Regions from separate parts of the Homo sapiens genome. Here region 2 is linked to region 1. The links are contacts of gene promoters, found by promoter capture Hi-C in blood cells and fetal thymus (Javierre and others, 2016). All regions are on one chromosome and are shown on one strand. The core of a region is centred on a gene start or on the middle of the fragment in contact, and the rest is flanking DNA. Distances in the headings are between cores, read along the strand shown.

Region 1 (4,523 bases), core at 844-3,343:
AACCAGATGGGGCAGCTCATGCCTGCAATCCCAACATTTTGGAAGGCCAAGGCGAGAGGATTGCTTGAGCTCAGGAGTTTGAGACTAACCTGGGCAACAGAGTGAGATGCCCTCTGTACAAAAACTTCTTAAAAATTAGCCAGGTATGGTGGCATGTGCCTGTAGTCCCAGCTACTCGGGAGGCTGAGGTGGGAGGATGGTTTGGGCCTGGGAAGTTGAGGCTGCAGTGAGCTGTGATTGTGTCATTGCACTCAGATCTGGGCAACAGAGTAAGATGCTATCTCAGAAAAAGAGGGGAAATCCCTTGCATATTATCCTTTTACTTATTATGACAATTATTATTCTCTTTTCCCTTGTTTTGCTTTTTCAGGCTGGTCAACTATCTGTTCATTTGCTCTCTTCTGTATATGGGTGTAGGGGCATGGCTCTGCCACGTTGACCTGCCAACCTTATATGTACTCACATAGGCCATACAGGCAAGGCTTAACCATAATTAATCAAAGTCTTGGCGGACATTCTGTGATCCTTGGGGAACAGGCTTATGAGGAACTACCACAAGGCCACTTTCAACTCATCTTTTTATCTTCTTGGGAGGCTGTCATGAGGCAGTTCTTATCACTTCCCAGGTTCTGATAAGGTATGAGGCATTCTGCCTCATCTTTCTTAGGGCAGAACTGCAAGCCATAAACTTCTTAGTTGCAAATGGACTCAGCTCCTCAGCAACAGGGTGTCTCATTACTCAGGTTGCCATCCCCTTTTGTATTGGTGCTGTCCTGTGGGAGAGCTGGAAATTCTGCTTATTTCCTTTTGTGTCTATGTAAGTAATAAACTGTCTGAATCAAACAAGGACTGCTGTTTCTTTACTAATCAAAGCTGCTAGGATTTGCCTGAGAATGGGTTCTTATTTTTCCTTGAAGTTCTGTTTCAAAATAGTTTCTTTTTCAAACCTTGTCAACTTGTCTTGGCAACCAGGGATTTGGTTCATATCTGGGAGAGATGACAGTAGTGAGAAGCTGCTCAGAGGAACTGTGGGGATCTGGAAATTTGGTGAAGAGCAGATTTACTCATGGAGTAGGTCTCAAAAGACTCTTACCAAGGCTAACCTCCAGAGTTTCTGTCCCAACCTTAAACCTCTTCAGCTCCTGACCCAGCCTAGTCTTCTCAGGAATCCATGCCGTTTTAGACCCCTCCTTGAAAAAGGGCTCTCTCCCATCTCCAAGAAAATGATAAGCTTGGTGGGGACATACATAGAGGACTAAAGAGGGTCCATGGACATCAAACCTGCCCCCAAAACACAGACAGGAAGAAGCATGCAAATATATCACTGAGATAATGCAGAAAGTAGATTGAATTTGGAGTTCCTTGACAGATAAGTGTCATGAGTTGGTATACCCTGGGCAGTAGGGTCAGCCTAGGCCTGAATGGTTCAAGAACGATGCTGAGTTTTAAGTTTCCTTCTACCCACCACAACTTCCAGACCAGGACACACAAACTTGGGAAGCCCCCATTTGAGGATGCACACCACTGAGAGAAACCCATGTCTTCCTTTCCCTAAAAACTGTTCCCCCAGCTGTGTCTAGGCTCACTCTCCCTCCTCCCACTCAGTGGCTACCTGCCACAAGTCTTGGACCAGCCTCAGTGCTTCCCAGATGACCAAACCGGGGTCATTTTAGCTCAAATCAACTTTCACAGCCAGTACATGAGTCAGACCCATGAAATCCTCCCAAACTGCCAAATGCCAGCCTTGGGTCTTTAAAGCTACCAGAGCTTCATTGTTACCTGGTTACTAGGTAATAACCCACAACAATTACTCCTCTCTGGATCTGGGCCTAAACATTCTGGTATCTTATAGCTCTTTTGTATTAATACTTTCTCTGATTACCTGAAATGATATACCACATAGAAAACTGTACTAAGAGTTATTGAAGAATGTGCAAAAAATTAACAAGAGGTCCAAGGAAAACTAAGCACATGAAGAAAAGTCAAGCATTAACTTCAGGAAAAGTAGAAAGAAGAAAAGGAGACAATCATGGTATATGACCATGTTCTGCTGGGAATTATATTTTGCAAAGGCATAAAAATGTTAACATGAATATTCATCTAACAAAGAATTGTTAGGGCCAGGCACAGTGGCTCACACCTATAATCCCAACACTTTGGGAGGCCGAGGTAGGAGGATGGCTTGAGCCCAGGAGTTCGAGATCATCCCATGCAACACAGTGAGACCTCATCGCGACTAAAAATAAAAAATTAGCTGGGCGTGTGGTATGTGCCTGTGGTCCCAGATTCTTGAGAGGTTGAGGCAGGAGGATCGCTTGAGCCCAGGAGGTGGAAGCTGCAGTGAGCCATGATCGCACCACTGCATTCCAGCCTGGGTGAGAGAGCAAGAGCCTGTCTCAATAAAAGAAAAAGAAAGAAAAGAAAAATTAAGTCATTTCAATCATATACAAACTATCCTAATTAATAAGAAGGAACACTTCCTAAATGATTTTCTAATGCTAAAATAACCTGATAGTGAATCCTATTGTAAAAAATACACACAAAAAAGGAAAAGCCCAGTCTAATGTCATTAATGTAAATAAATGAAAAAAAACCCATACTAATTATTAGAAAATTAAATCCAGTAGTACATAAAAAAGAATAATACAGCATAAGTAGAATTTCTCCAAGATATGAGGTTGACTTAACATTATAAAAGTAATTAGTATATATGCAAAGTTAATGAACTAAAGGGAAAATCATGATTATCTATGTACATGCAGAAAAATTACTTAATAAAATTCAACAACCTTTCATGATTTTAAAATAATCTTAATTAATCTTAAGATTTTTAGCAGATATTAGTTGTATCCTTAGGCATATAAGAGAATATTTGTAACTTGGTAAGGGTGTCCAGGGGAAAAAAAAAAAGCTAAAGCAAACATCATACTTAATGGTGAAATGATTAAAGCTTTCCCTTTGAAATCCAGAACAAGACAGGGATGTCTGCTATCATCACTTTAATCATCCTGTCGTCATTGTTCCAAAGGGCCTAACCAGTGTATACAACAAGAGAAAAATATAAAGGTCTGAGGTGTTCATATGGCATTCTCCATGGTTAGAAAAAGAAGGGGAAAAGTATAAGGAGGTTATTCCGTAGGATTTTGGGGAACAGGTGGTATTTGGTTACGTGAGTAAGTTCTTTAGTGGTGATTTGTGAGATATTGGTGTACCCGTCACCAGAGCAGTATACATTGAACTCAATTTGTAGTCTTTTATCCCTCACCCACTTCCCACCCTACACCCCTGAGTCCCCAAAGTGCACTGTATCATTCTTATGCCTTTGCAGCCTCATAGCTTAGCTCCCACTTATGAGTGAGAAGATACACCTTCTTATATGAAACTTTTTTATTTAGAGTTAAAACTCTGTATGTTTAGAGTTAATACGAGTATAAAACTCTCCTTATTTAGAGTTAATATGATTATAAACATTATAATATCCAGCAAATTTACAGAAAAACTAGTAGGTAATAAGAATAGCAAATTTTCTGAACATGGAAGTAAATATTCATGAAAGGTCATTTATAAGAAAAACAAACCTGACGCTTCATTATAAAAACAAATATTAATTACATCTCATGGGTCAGAAGTAAAATTTTTAAAAATAAAATAGGTTTTAAAATTTAAAAATATTAAATTGGCAGTGAGGGAGCAACTCACAAATTATTTTATAACGACAAATGTTATCATAAAGGCCCATGCTTAAGAATCAGGCTGAAAGTTGCTTGTTCTGGGCCAGGGGTGGTGGCTCACGCCTGTAATCCCAGCACTTTTGGAGGCCTAGGTGGGTGGATCACTTGAGGTCAGGCGTTCCAGACCAGCCTGGCCAACATGGTGAAACCCATTTCTACTAAAAATATAAAAATTAGCCAGGTGTGGTGGCCCACACCTGTAAGCCCAGCTACCAGGGAGGCTGAGGCAGGAGAATTGCTTGAACCCTCCAGGCGGAGGTTTCAGTGAACCAAGATCACACCACTGCACTCCAGCCTGGGCAACAGAGTAAGACTTTGTCTCAAAAAAGAAAAAAAAAAGTTAATTATTCTGCAGAACTTGGAGGTGATCCCAATGGTACCTCTGAGAAGCCACCCTGTCATTCTAAAAAGGATGAATACGATTAAGAAACATGTTCACCAGCCTGGGCAACATGGTGAAACTTTGTCTCTACTGATACAAAAATTAGCCGGGAGTGGTGGTGTGCACCTGTAATCCCACGAAACTGAGGCATGAGAATCACTTGAACCTGGGAGACAGAGGTTGCAGTGAGCTGAGATCGCACCACTGTACTCCAGCCTGGGCAGCAGAGTGAGACTCTGTCTCAAAAAAAAAAAAAAAGAGAGAGAGAGAGAAAGAAAGAAATATATTCAGAGGAATCCTATGAAGAAATAGAAAGTAAAACATCTAGTATTTCATCATTAATAGGTAATCATAGAGAAGAATAAAAAGAAGAATAAGGAAGGATATGAGGAGAATTGTTACTAAAGGAA
Region 2 (5,160 bases), core at 724-3,223, 670 kb before region 1:
ACCTTGGTCACCAGGTAGCCGGGCTCTGCGGAGCGGGGCGCCAGCTCCACGCCTGTGGAACCGTCTGTGGGGAGGGCGGGGTACAGGATCTCGGGCGCATTGTCGTTCTGGTCCAGCACAAACAGGCTCAACGACACGTTGCTGCTGAGTGGAGGATCCCCGCTGTCGCTGGCTGTCACCTGCATCTGTAGCTCATGAAACTGCTCATAGTCGAAGGATCTGAGTGCATACAGGACGCCAGTGTCTGAGTTGATGGATATGTATGAGGACAGAGGTACCCCCTGGATGGTGTCTTCAGCCAGGGAGTAAATAATCTGGGCATTCTCTTTGCTGTCCGGGTCCAGCGCTGTCACTGAGAAGATGGAGGCACCCCTGGCGTTGTTCTCTGGGATATAGGTAAAGTAGGAGACTTGAGAGAAGGTAGGTGGGTTGTCATTGATATCTGCCACTTGTAGCATAAAGTGAGCTTCCGTTGATAGAGGAGGACTTCCCCCATCTGTGGCTGTCACTGTGATATTGTAAGAGGATACCTGTTCCCTGTCAAGGGCTCTGTGTATCACCAATCTGTAATAACTGTCAATGGACTTTTCTAATTTAAATGGTAGATACGCCAAAATGGAACAGGTTACCTGTCCATTCTGCTCAGAGTCTAAATCATGCACATTTAAAAGGGCTACGACTGTTCCCAGAGGTGAATCTTCAGTCACTGGACTAAATAGAGACGTGATGGTCAGCTCTGGACTGTTGTCATTTACATCTTCTACTGTAATCAACACTTTTGCAGTTGCAAGATATGCTCCTCCATCTTCTGCTTGTATTTCTATTTCATAGAAACCGGTTTCTTCATAATCTAGATTTTCTGATATTTTTATTTCTCCAGTATATTTGTTTAGTTGGAACTTCAACAATTGCGTGTCAGGTAATTTTCGGAATGAATATGTCACTTCTCCATTGGCACCTTCGTCCCTGTCGGTGGCTGTGACTGTCAGCAGCTGAGTGCCCACAGGCAAATTCTCAGGAACACTCACTCGGTATTCTGGCAAGGTGAAGACCGGCGCGTTGTCATTTGCATCGAAGACAGTCACACTGACAAGGACAGTGCCAGATCGGAGAGGGTCACCCCCGTCGGAGGCGGTGAGGACCAGGTGGTGAATGGCCTCTTCCTCGCGATCTAGGGAGTGCTCCAGTACCAGCTCCGGGTACTTGACGCCATTGGCACGGCTCTGAACTCTTAGGGAGAAGTGCTTATTGGGGCTGAGCTGATAGCTCTGCAGGGAGTTCACGCCCACATCCGGATCAATAGCTTCCGGGAGAGGAAAACGCATTCCCGCAGCGACATTTTCATTAATTTTTACGTCTAGATTTTCTGCTTGGAATTTTGGAGCATTGTCATTGATATCAGTTACTTCTATTTCTATCCCAAAAAGTTTCACCCTGTCTTCCACAAGGATATTAAAACTCACCACGCACCGCGCGCTCTGAGCGCAGAGCTCCTCCCGGTCTATCCTGCCCGCGGTGATCAAGCTGCCGCTGCGCGGGTTCAGAGAGAAAAGCTGCGTCCTACCTCTGGAGACTATGCGGACTCCGCGCTCCGCCAGCTCCCGGGGCGCCAGACCCAAGTCCTTGGAGATGTTGCCCACGAAAGAGCCTTTCTCTAATTCCTCAGGAATTGAGTAGGAGATCTGCCGGGCTCCAGCCTCCCATGGAATCCCGAAGAAAAGGCAGAGCAGGACCAGCCCGCTGCAATCCTTTGATTCCTTTGAGCGATTCCTTTGAGCGGCCATTGTAGTCTGGTTACAGAATTCTGCAAAGTCCTCACTGGACACGTTGTGTGTTTCAACCGGTTCCTTTGTCTTTCTGTGGCTTCAGGGTGTCTCTGTAGCCTGGGCACTTTAAATTCTGGAGTGAGCTTCCCTGCAGCCCAGCAGCCGGTTTGTGGGGCTTGTGTAGTTGAAGCCCTGAGAATCCGGATTGAGCTCTGGCTGCGTTTTCTCTCCTAGTAGGTGAACAGCGGCGCTCAGAGTCCTAAGAAGTTACTGCACCCAAGTGATACATGCAATGGAAAGTAAACTATTCTGTTGGATTATTATATTTTACATAGATTCTTTGGTTTCTCCACTCCTATCTTTAAATAATTTACTATATGTAGGTTTCTTAGGGGAGGTGTGATAAAGTGGAGTGAAAATATTGTAAATATTTCAAGATAATGTTTGGTTAAATATATATTTGCAACACGTTTTCCCAACAGAAATGTACACACTTTAATAAAAGGTAAATAATACTTATTTTAGGTCATATTAGTGTCTAGGTAAATTCAGAAAAGTCTTATAATTTAAAATTGTGATTTGAATAGGCCAATTTTATTTAGTATACATTCATACAAAGATTATATTAAATAAACTCATGAGATAATTCACTCTGAAGCTTTATAATTGTAACTACTTAATTCATTAAACTTATTTAGCTTAGGATTGTGTAAGAGGTTTTTAAAGTACTCTTCTAGAATAGTTTTACTGAGCCTTAATTAACCTTTTTGTGTAAAACATACTTTATCTTACAGGGATACAAGTTAAATGGACCTATTTAAATGATTAAGCAGGTAATCACAAACTAAAATGAACATATATTACAGTTGCAAATTAAACTGTTTGCATTGTAATGAGAAAAGAAATACGTAGAATTTGAAGTACTAAAAGTTTTAGAAAACAAAGTTAGATGTAGTGATATAGGTTTTTAACAAGTAAGTGTTTATGTCAAATGACCTGTTTTCATCAGAGCATTAATACCAGTATAAATAATCTCTTCTCTTAGGCAGTTTGTATCAGAGGCCAAAGTCCAGTGGTTCACATATCTTCAACTGTGTGTGCCCATCAACCCAGTAGCAATTGTTCCCTCAAATGCAAAGGGTATAGAAGTTCACTTCTTTCACACAGAGAACAGGATGTTCAGAAGTGTTTATGTCACTATGCCTTCCAAGTATAGAACTCTTCAAAGATTTTATCTTTTTTCTTCAAAAATCTTCTATCAGAGAATCAGAGACAGAGACTGAGTGCAAAGGCAATAGTATTTCATTTATTTCTTAGAAATGTCTTTTTTTTTTGAGACAGGGTCTCACTCTGTCACCTAGACAGCTCACTGCAGCCTAGACTTCCTGGGCTCAAGCGATTCTCCCACCACAGCCACCAGAGTAGCTGAGACCACAGGCATGTGCCACCACACCCTGCTAATTTTTAAATGTTCTGTAGCGATGGAGTCTCCCTGTGTTGCCCAGGCTGGTCTCAAATTCCTGCGCTCAAGAGATTCTCCACCTCCACCTCCCAAAGTGCTGGGATTACAGCACACTTGGCCCTGCCTGCATATTTATTTATTTATTTTAGAGACAGGGTCGCACTCTGTCGCCCAGGCTGGAGTGCAGTGGCAAGATCAGGGCTCACTGCAACCTTGACCTCCCAGGACCAAGCAATCCACCCAGCTCAGCCTCCCAAGTAGCTGGGACCACAGGGGAATGCTACCACACTCTGCTAATGTTTTTTTTTGTTGTTGTTGTTTTAGTAGAGATGGGGGGTCTCCCTATATTGCCCAGGCTGGTCTCAATTCTTGGGCTCAAGTGATACTTTCCGATTCAGCCTATCAAAGTGCTGTGATTATAGGTGTGAGCCACTGGGCCTGTCTTCTGAATATTTTTAGGCTTTAAAAATATATAAATAAGATATCGTAAATTCACTAAGTCTTCGCAAATTTGAATAGATAGGTTACTTGTTTGTTTTCTTAGATGCCAAGACCACTGCTTCTGTTCGATAGTCAGAACTTGACAAAATATTGTGGCTCACGCCTGTAATCCCAGCACTTTGAGAGGCCAAGGTGGGAGGATCACGAGGACAGGAGTTTCTGAACAGCCTGGTCGACATAGTGAAACCCCATGTCTACTAAAAATACAAAAAATTTAGCTGTGGTGAGGGGCACCAGTAATCCCAGCTACTTGGGAGGCTGAGGCAGGAGAATCGCTTGAACCCAGAAGGCGGAGGTTGCAGTGAGCAGAGATCACGCCACTGCACTCCAGCCTAGGCAACAGTGCGAGACTCCATCTCAAAAAAAAAAAAAAAAAAAAAAGACAAAGACAAAATATCTTCAGTCTGGTGACATTATTTTACAAAAAGATAGAGCAACTTATGAACCAAATACATAGTGAAAACTATAATTGAAAAAACATTGAGAAAATATTGTAAAAAGCTATGGATTTTAAACATATGATTCTAGATATGAAAATAAAGTAGTATGCCTAAAATATGAGAAACTAGTAGACTATTAGATAAATCACACACAAAAAAGAGAAACTCACCGAAGTCAGAGTCTCAGGATGTGAAGTCAAATCCTCCCCACCATGAGGTGGAATTAAGGCTCCAGGAGAAACACTGCAAACCATGTCTTCATTGGAATGTAGGGGCACACTGCATTTTAGGAAATTAAACTCTTTTGTACCCGTATGTGCAATGCACAGATTATAAGAATAAGGCAAAGTCCCCTCACTGTAGTTGGGGGGAACTACAGGTCCAGACTTGACACAGAGACCAGGATGGAAGCAGTCCCAAGTAGCAGGGCTGAGAGAGCGTCGCAGGCGCAAGGCAATGGCCAGAATCACGGCGAGGAGGAAGAGCACTGAGATTAAGGCCAAGGCCACCACCAGGTAAAACTGCAGTTCAGCCTGGGGGTCAGAGAGTACAGGGCGGTCGCTGAGGTCTGGCAGTATCTCTTGCAAGTTGTCTGCGAAGACCAGATGAAGCGTGGCGGTGGCAGAGAGTGGCGGCTGTCCACCGTCACGCACAGCGACCAGCAGGCGCTGGCGGGCTGCGTCCCTGTCGCCTAAGGCTCGAGCCGTGCGCACCTCCCCAGTGCGCAGCCCCAGGCTGAAGAGTCCGGGCTCACTGGCCTGCAGCACGTGGTAGGACAGCCAGGCGTTGTGTCCCGAGTCGGCGTCCACCGCTACCACCTTAGTCACTAGGTAGCCGGGCTCTGCAGAGCGAGGTACCATATCGAAGAACGCGGAGCCGTCAGGACCCAGAGCTGGGTACAGCACCCGCGGTGCGTTGTCATTGCGGTCTCCCACCAACACGCGCAGGCTCACGTTGGCGCTGAGCGTGGGCGAGCCGTGGTCGCGGGCCT

What was found. The method cuts DNA at HindIII sites, captures the fragments that hold promoters and counts their contacts. A CHiCAGO score of 5 or more calls a contact.
Region 2: a contact is called between the fragment with the promoter of PCDHGA10 here and a fragment that was not itself captured in region 1, in 1 of 17 cell types (M1 macrophages). The highest score is 6.1, in M1 macrophages.

Annotation. Positions count from the first base shown.
Region 1 is chr5:140,738,279-140,742,801 of GRCh38, reverse strand. All of the region lies in intron 3 of LOC105378198 (a long non-coding RNA gene), which reads right to left. Among named protein-coding and RNA genes, the nearest start is that of ZMAT2, 40 kb to the right of the region's middle. The HindIII fragment of the contact is 1,719 bases long and covers 1,234-2,952 here.
Region 2 is chr5:141,409,800-141,414,959 of GRCh38, reverse strand. PCDHGA10 (protocadherin gamma subfamily A, 10) reads right to left here and starts at 1,973. Exons shown (of 4, transcript NM_018913.3): 1 at 1-1,973. The coding sequence starts at 1,784. All of the region lies in intron 1 of PCDHGA1 (protocadherin gamma subfamily A, 1), which reads right to left. The region is part of intron 1 of PCDHGA2 (protocadherin gamma subfamily A, 2); the gene reads right to left. The region is part of intron 1 of PCDHGA3 (protocadherin gamma subfamily A, 3); the gene reads right to left. It also overlaps PCDHGB1, PCDHGA4, PCDHGB2, PCDHGA5, PCDHGB3 and PCDHGA6, and 7 more genes. The HindIII fragment of the contact is 11,668 bases long and covers 1-2,426 here.